3 separate regions of the Homo sapiens genome follow, and all the other regions are linked to region 3. The links are contacts of gene promoters, found by promoter capture Hi-C in human tissues and cell types (Jung and others, 2019). All regions are on one chromosome and are shown on one strand. The core of a region is centred on a gene start or on the middle of the fragment in contact, and the rest is flanking DNA. Distances in the headings are between cores, read along the strand shown. Region 1 holds the start of FAM221B (family with sequence similarity 221 member B). Region 2 overlaps TLN1 (talin 1). Region 3 holds the start of NPR2 (natriuretic peptide receptor 2).

Region 1 (2,700 bases), core at 78-2,577, 37 kb before region 3:
AATGATCTAGTTCCCCAGGTCCCACCTCTCCTGAATCTCTCCAGCCCACCCCTCCCTGCCGGAACCCCATTCCTGCCTCAATCTTCCCTGCTTCTGCACTCACCAGCCCCTGGGCCAAGGACAGAGAACAGCAACAGCAGCAATAGGGCTGGCGGCAGCTGAAACCCAGACTTGAGTCTAGGCTGGGAGAGGGGCAGAGTATGAGAGATAGGGGGGACTAGAGGGAGAGACTTGGGTAAACACAGAGATGAGGGCAAAGGCTGAGATAATGGGTTGGGCTGGGCTGGACACTGGGGCTTGAACAAGGGCAGGGAGTGGGATGGAAGGAAGGGCTGTGATGGGGACTGCAGCAAGGGACGGGGTTGAGCCAGGGCCTTAAGCAAACACTGGGAATGGGGCTGGGACAGGGCCTGGGCTGGGATTTGTGACAGGGGGTGGAACGAGGGCCGAGGCCGGGATGGGGGCCAGGCCAGGGGCAGAGACTGGAAGGGGGTCCTGGATGGGGACCCAGGCAGGGGCTGGGGCCGATGTGGGAAGCGGGGCGAGGGCGGGGCTGGGGGCCAAGGCGGGGATTGGGATAGGACGAGGGGCCGGGACAAGGGCTGGGCCATGGCCCGGGGCGGGGGCGGGGCCGGACAGGCCAGCGCGGGGCGCTCGCAGAGCTGGCCCGCGGCTCCGCTCCCCACCCCCGGGGGGTGGCCTCCGGTGTCCTCGCGGGCCCGGGGCGGGGGCCGGGGACCTGGGTAGGAGTTCAGGCCTGGGCGACTCCGGGCTGCGCTGAACCGGCGATAACCAGGCCCCGCGGCGGCGGCCTCGACTTGACGTCGGCGTGACGCCCCGCCCCCCGGCCGGCTCGATTGGTCCCTGTCAGTAAAGCCCGCCCCCGCCCTACTCTATTGGTCCCCAACTTAGTCCTGCTGGGCTTCGAGGACACACAGACTCCGCCCCCGCCTCAGCTACCCGAGACCCTGCCTTTCTCACCCCAAGCACAGAGCCCGAGGTCCCCTCAGATCCTCACAGCCCCCAACGACCGCCCCACAGATGTCTCAAAGGAACCCTATCCTCACAATCCCAGACTCCCCCGGACGTACGCACAGATCTCCGCAGATCCTACCCAAACACTCGCTCACAGAGATCCCGCAACACACACCCCACTTTTCAGAAGTAAACCCTCTGGGCTCGCCCCCTCGAGGCCCAATGCAAGCCCCTCAGGAGACCTTACCCACCGGGGAGGTGACCAGACCGCCGTTGCCACGGAGACTACTAGGCGTTCCGGTTGCCCTGGTGACCGGCGCCTACTCTCCTGGCCCGGGTTCCGGAGGCTTCAGTCAAGACCCTCCCTCATTGGCCCTAGACCCCTTGTCCCTACCCACTTCCCCAGGTCATGCCAGAGCTCCTTTGCGAAGTTCTGCAGATATCCAAGTCCCCTTCCCAGATAGCAGACTTTCAGGCAAGGCATTTCAACACTCAGCACCTGCAGCTGAGGCACATCCACAACCAAGAGCCTTTCCTCCCTGAGGATCAACACCTCCCCCTGCCATCCTAAGTCAAGGTCTTGACCTAAGGACTTGTAACAACCAAGCCAAAGCCCAGAGGGTAGGTGGTTTCTCCAACGGCCCTTGCCCTCTTCCCTCAAAGACATCTGTCTTTCTCCCACCCCTCAGTCCCTTCACATTGTTGTAGTAGTAGTAGTAGTAGTAGTAGTAGTAGTAGTAGTAGTAGTAGTTGTTGTTGTTGTTGTTGTTGTTGTTGTTGTTGTTGTTGTTTGAGACAGAGTCTCGCTCTGTCCCCCAGGCTGGAGTGCAGTGGTGCGATCTGGGCTCACTGCAACCTCCGCCTCCCAGGTTCAAGTGATTTGCTTGCTTCAGCCTCCCCAGTAGCTGGGACTACAGGCGCCTGCCACCATGCCCAGCTAATTTTTGTATTTTTAGTAGAGACTGGGTTTCACCATGTTGGCCAGGCTGGTCTCGAACTCCTGACCTCAAGTGATCCACCCGCCTTGGCCTCCCAAATTCTGGGATTACTGGCATGAGCCACCATGCCTGGCCCACATTCTGTACTTTTCATCCTTACTCTCCTCCTCCACCCAATTTCCTCCTCCCCTTCTCTTTCCCCTTCCTCACCTCCCATCTTCTGGTTCTCCACTCTTAGGCCCCTTTTCTCTCTAGCTGACTCTGGTCATCTTCCTCCCTGTAATCCTACCTCTGCCCCTAATTCCCTTCCCAAACATCCCCTTCAAAAAGGCTCTGATGCATTTAAGGAGTGATATATCTAGCGTCTCTGGAACATGGGGGTAAAGTAGGGAGCACGGAAAGTTAAGGCAGGAATCCTCAGGCTGTGTTGAAAATGATGACAGGCCTTGAATGCCAGGGCCAAGAAATTTGGACTTAATCCTTTAGACTGAGTCATGGAATGTTTTTAAGCCACAAAGTGCCAGTTGTTGGGCTTGCACTTTAGAAAGATCCTGATTGGGTCAGGAAGGAGGACTACATCCTTGCAGGATAAATTAGGTATATCCCCCTCCCCACCGTATCCTAGACTCACCCCAGAACAACATCAATTTATTTGTATTGCCATTGTTGGTTAATCGGTCTCTCTCCTAGACTCAACTCAATCTAGAGCTTAGCACAGCGGGTCAGTAAAAGCATCAGATTAGGCTCATTGTAAAAGTATAAGTTACATAAATCCATGAAAGAATGG
Region 2 (2,700 bases), core at 79-2,578, 63 kb after region 3:
CCCACCCCCACCCCAGTCTGATTTAGTGACTGACCACAGGCCCAGCTCTTCTCAACCTCCTATAGCCTGACCTGGCCTCTGACCTCACCCCATCATTCCCTGACTTAGCCACCATCCATGTAATCATTCCCCTTCCCCCAACCTGATGCAGTGACTGGTCATATATGTATCTTATGTATATGTATTTTTCCAAACACCATCATCACCAGCATTCTTTTTCTACACCCTGTCTTCTCATCCTTTTTCTACACCCTGTCTTCCCCATTCCCAGCCTGATGCAGTCACTAACCCAACCCCATCTGCCCCTAGTGGCTACTAATCATATACTCATACCCTTTTTCCCCACAGCCTAACCACATCCCGTAACCACAGCCTCATCCTCACATTCTCTGCCCAACCTGATCCTTTCCCCTCTTCCCAATTCGTCGCCTAAACTCAAGCTGCCCCAGCCGCTAAAGTGGCTGCTGATGATAGGAAGCTGTGGGACTCTAACCTGTCTACCTTAGTAGTTATTAGGTCCTGTCATTTCTACCTCCCCAAACTTGTTCTGAGTGACATCTTCCTCAATGCCATTCCAACTCCGGCTTCATTACCTTTAATTTGTACTAATACAGTGTCCTTCTAACTAATCTCCAAGGTAACTGCCAGAGTTATTTTTCTAAAATCCAGTTCCGGTTATGTCTCTTCTCTGCTCAAAGACTCCCTTGGCTTCCTTTTGTCCTCCAATAAGTAAAATTCCTCATACCCCTCTCCAGTCTTCCTCTGCCTTTCCATCCTAACCCTGACTTCCCCACCACTGCTCCCTTGCAGGTACCCCTGTGCTTCAACAGCCTGCCTGCTCACTTCCCTGAATGCTCCTCCACGATTTACTGCTTCTCCATCTTTGCTTATGCTATTTCTCTGCCTGGAGTGAAAACTACCCCTGACACATCTCCAGCTGGCTGGCGTAGTGGAGAAAGCTTGGGCTTTGCAGTCAGAAACCTGGGTTCGGATCCTGGCTTCACAACTTATTATTTGGAGAAGTATTTGAACAAGTATTTAACATCTTTGAGTCTGTTTTCTGATCTGTAAAAATGGAAATAATGACACCTACTGTAAGGATTAAATGAAATTATGTATACAATGCAAGTGACATAGTCAATAAATGGCAGATCACTATTGTTTTTTATTATCTCTATTTTTTAAAATTCTAGCTTCAAATGATACTTATCATGGAGACTTTTTGGTTCCCCTTCCCTGACCTAAAGGGATCTCTCTGAGCACACACCTTTTGGCTCTTACCACATCCTGCCCTCCGTTGTGATTCTGTACTTGGCTTATTCACTCATCTCGTGGACTGGGAGCCCTTTGAACTCAAAGGCTAGGTCTTACTGATCTTGGTCCCCAGCCACTGAAAGTTTGGCCCAGGGTCTTCCCCACAGCTGGCCCTCAAGGAATGCTTGCTGGGTGAATGGAGAATGTCTACATAATGGGAGGAGAGACACTGGGTGCCGGGTGTGCTTGTTATGGAGGTTATCTGTGCAAAAGCTGTGTGCATAGGATGGGCTCCCTAGGAGAAGATAATGCAGTCGTGATGGGATCTGTGTGGGGGCTGTGTGATTGAGATAATGTGTGTATAGAGAGAGTAAGGTAGCTTTGTGGGAAAGAGCTCTGCCTAGGCTGGGGTGCATCTGGGGAGAATGAGTGTGCATTTGAGTATGGAGGGGCTGTACCGGGGGAAGTTCTGTGCAGCCCTTCAGCTAGCTGCCCAGTCCAGCTCTAAATGAGTCTCCAGCAGCCTGAGGCCGGATATGTCAGTCTCACCCACAGCCCTCCCCCACTGCCAGCGGTTGCGGACTCAGAGGCCAAATTTGGTAACAGACTGAGTGTTACTCCCCCATCCCTCTTATATTCTGACTGTCTTAAGCTCTTTCCTTTTGTTCCTGTCTGTAACTCCCTATCTTTCTGCAATTCCCCTTGTGGGTATCTGCTCTGACTATATTCTCCAAGTACCCCAACTTTCTTAGCTCCAATACTCTTACATTCCATTCCTTGCTGGGATTTGACCTCCTGTCCTCCATTCCCCCCCTCCAATTGCCCAACTTCTTTGGAATGCATCGCAGGAATGTATTGAGGGAGGAGGAGTTCCCTGGGAGGGGGACACGGCAGTGGGGAGTTGCTGTTCCATCAAACACAATGGAAAAGGGAGCAAAGTTCTCAGGCCAAAGGAGGAATGAGCTAGCTTCTACTCATACTTGTAGCAGCCTTGTTCTTTGCCACCACCACCCACAATTCACTGATCAGTTCTTCGCGTCCACACACCCTCTTGTAGCTGTGTGAATATCCACTCTGGACCAGCTGGGGAGTAAGGGTAGGCATGACTCAGCTCCCTTATCGGGGTCTCACCAGAGGCTTCCGTGCTTGAGGAGGAAGGGGGTGTCTAAGTGTCCAGAGGAAATGGGGGGAGACATGCAGTTTCAGCTTAGTGTGAAGGGTCCTTTCAGTCCTGCTTCTTGGCTCCACAGACTCCTCCAGCTTCTCGGATCCACCAGCCCAGCCCTCATTCTTTCATGGTCAGCAACCCCATAGCCAGGTCTGTCCAGCTGGGACACAAGCGGATAGTAATAAGGTTGGGCAAAGTGCCCCAGGAGTGGGGAGGGGGCAGAGAGCTGGAACTGGGGAGACTGGGAGGGTCCTCTCTTATTGGGGAGTAAAGACAGA
Region 3 (2,806 bases), core at 1-2,500:
GGGGCCAGTGCGAACCAGGGTACGATAATGGTCATTCTTAGCCGAAAAACCAGAGGCCACAGCACCCGCAGTCAGCAGGGGAAGGCGCCAGTGGGAGGCAAAGCGGGCCACAGAGGCAGCAGGGTACACGCAACCGGGACCTAACAGCAGGTCGGGGTCATGGTACAGCTTGAGGTCCACAGCGCTCAGCGGTGCCAGGTACTCAGAGCAGGCGCCTTCCAGTTCGGAGCTGACAAACCGCAGGTCCACGGGCAGTGCCCGGCCCAGAGCCTCCACAGCTAGTGCCACAGCGGGTCCCACCCGTGGCCAGGCCCAGGCATAGCTCAGGTTGTGTTCTGGCAGCACCACCGCCAGCGTCAGGTTCCGCGCCCCGGGAGGACGCACCCCACCTGCCAGGGCTGCCACCAACAGCAGAAGTGATGGCAGCGCCATGGGGATAAAGCAGCAGCCCCACCGCCCCCAGAACTTGGGGCTGCTCTGGCCTACAGGGGAGACGCGAGCACCCCCCAGCCTGGAGCCTGGGGAAGAGGGCCAGGAAGAGGAGGAGTAGGCTAGGTAGGCTGGGATGCAGAAGGTGCTGGGGGCCGGGGAGAGGAGGGGGAGATGGGAGGAAGGCGGGGGGCGGGCAAGGAGTGGGCTACCAGCCTAGGGCAAGGACTGAGGACTGAGAACGGGGTGGCAGGGGGAGGGAGGGACCGAGGGGGCCTGCGGCCAGGATGGGGACAGTGCGAGGTGAAGAAGCCTGATAAATCTAAAGCTGAGAAGGAAAAGGGGATCTGGGACTGGGATGGGGTGGGGGTGGGGGGCGGGTGGTACAAAGAAACGGCCTGGGGGAACCTCACAGCTGAAAGGGCCGGGAGGGCAGGAGGGCGCTGCGCCACATAGGACCAAGGGGGTAAGGTGGGAGGGTGCCCGCGCCGCGGAAGGACTGGGATCATGGGCAGGCGGGGAGCGAAGCGAGGCCTGGGCCGGAGGGCAGGGGAAGGCAGGGGTAAATCTCCCTGTGAAGGATTCTCCCGGAGCTCCTGCTTGGACTAACGGGCCCGGGCGCTGGTCCCATCCGGAGCTACGGCGGCCCCGCCCGTGTCCCCGCTCCTCTCTGCTCCGCTTCTCCTGGGCCCTGGCGGCCGGCGCTGCCCGGCGCTTCCTCCCGCCCCCCGCCTGGGCCCCGCGCGCGCCGCTCGTCCGGGTCAGGTCGCCTCGGCCCGGCCCGTCTCCGCTCGCTGCGCCGGCGGCCGAGTGCGACTCCCCCGGGCAGGCCGCCCGCCCCCGCCCCTCCCCCGCTGCCTCTCCTCCTCCCTCCCGGCCCCACCCTCCGGCGCCGGCTGCCTTCCCCCACCCCCCACCCGGGCGCTCGGGACCGCCAGGTCCCAAACCCACCCCGGTGAGCACTTGGGGGCTCCGCACCAAGGCCTCGCCGGCCAGCAGGGTTCCCGGGCGCTCCCTCACTCTCAGGGCCTACCCTGGTCTCCCCCACGCCCCTGGTCCCCCTGCCGCCCCTCCTTCCATTTCCATCTCACACACGCCAGCGACCCCAGGGTTTGTCCTCTCCCCCTCGCTCAGCCCGTTCTTCTTGGGTCTCCCCTCTGAACTCCCTGAGTCCCTCAGTGGTTCCAGTCTCCAGGAAGCAGTCGAGGATCCCCAGACGTGTGGTATCCTCACCAGCCCCCTCACCTAGCAAACCATAGCGCCCTCCCGACGGCAGTGCGGCTTACTCCACCGCGGACCATGCCCGCTCCCTGGACGGGCCCCTCCAGCAGCCAGGGGCCCCTGCTGTACACTTCCCACCAGTCCTTAGAAAGTCCACGAGGCTCCTTCTTGCTTGGGACTCAACTCTCGGCCCCCCGCTGTCTCCATGCCCCCTGCCCTCCTCGTGTCCTCAGAGGCCCACCGCAGCCCGCCCGGCTTCCTCCGCACCATCTGCTCAGTCAGGGCCTCGATTTTCTTTTGTCTCCTGCACAGCGCAGGCTGGCGCCTGGGGAAAGCCTGTAACGGACCGGCGGGACACTCCCCGCAGTGGAAGCCCATCCACGCTCTCCTGGGGTTCCACCTTGCTCCCAGCTTCCCTTAGGAAGCTCTCCCTAGGGCCCTCATATCTGGAGTGCCAATCTGACCCCAAGAACAGCTTGTGAGGGATGATCTCATGGTGGCTGAGAGGGACTGCTATGGGACCTTGGGGATTTTTCTCCAACTGTCATAAAGGACATGCACATAAGCCCATTCTCTGCCCGCGCTAAGAGCCACGGTTTCTCTCCCCCCTTCAAGCTATTTCTCCAGAAATCACAAGCTAAGAGCGCTCCTGGAGCCCTGGAGTGGGGTGGGAGTGTATAGGGCGAGGACGGGCATGGTTTCCCTGAGATGAAGGCGACACCTAGTGGTTTGGTGGGGGAAATTAAGGACAATGCCACTTTATCCTTAGGCACGATATTTATTGAACACCGGCTGCCTAGCACAAGCTGTACCTGTGAATACAAAGAAAGCCGAATGATACAGCCCTTACCTTTGAGGAACATGCATTTGCAATCCCTGGGGCACAGAGGCCAAGAGCAGGCCGTCCCTAACAATGTTCTTGCCTCAAGCCCAGTAGAGATGGAAGCCTCAGGACAGCTCCTTCTTTAACGCAGAGGGGTTGGTAACTCTAGTTCCAGGCTCCCAATACTGCAGTGAAAAGGAATTTTGTCCTATCTGGCCAAGGCAAAAAAAAAAAAAAGGAACAGTCAAAAGAATGACGAGACAACATGAGAAATACTTTAGACCAAGTCAACCAAATAGAATAGTTGATTTTTAAGCAACTACACATTGTTTT

The links. The method cuts DNA at HindIII sites, captures the fragments that hold promoters and counts their contacts. A contact is called where the count stands out against the background at its distance.
Region 1: the fragment with the promoter of FAM221B here is called in contact with the fragment with the promoter of NPR2 in region 3 in 6 of the 25 tissues and cell types used here (IMR-90 fibroblasts, adrenal gland, bladder and 3 more).
Region 2: a contact is called between a fragment that was not itself captured here and the fragment with the promoter of NPR2 in region 3, in 1 of the 25 tissues and cell types used here (neural progenitor cells).

The regions. Positions count from the first base shown.
Region 1 is chr9:35,827,359-35,830,058 of GRCh38, reverse strand. FAM221B (family with sequence similarity 221 member B) reads left to right here and starts at 1,327. Exons shown (of 7, transcript NM_001012446.4): 1 at 1,327-1,596. TMEM8B (transmembrane protein 8B) reads right to left here and starts at 831. Exons shown (of 13, transcript NM_001042590.4): 1 at 104-831. The coding sequence starts at 611. RefSeq lists an enhancer at 1-239 and a silencer at 525-974. The HindIII fragment of the contact is 23,285 bases long and covers 1-2,700 here.
Region 2 is chr9:35,727,510-35,730,209 of GRCh38, reverse strand. The region is part of intron 1 of TLN1 (talin 1); the gene reads left to right. Among named protein-coding and RNA genes, the nearest start is that of TLN1, 3.3 kb to the left of the region's middle. RefSeq lists an enhancer at 2,303-2,700. The HindIII fragment of the contact is 3,260 bases long and covers 1-2,700 here.
Region 3 is chr9:35,790,035-35,792,840 of GRCh38, reverse strand. NPR2 (natriuretic peptide receptor 2) reads right to left here and starts at 1,250. Exons shown (of 22, transcript NM_003995.4): 1 at 1-1,250. The coding sequence starts at 432. It also overlaps a transcript of RGP1 not described here. The HindIII fragment of the contact is 19,498 bases long and covers 1-2,806 here.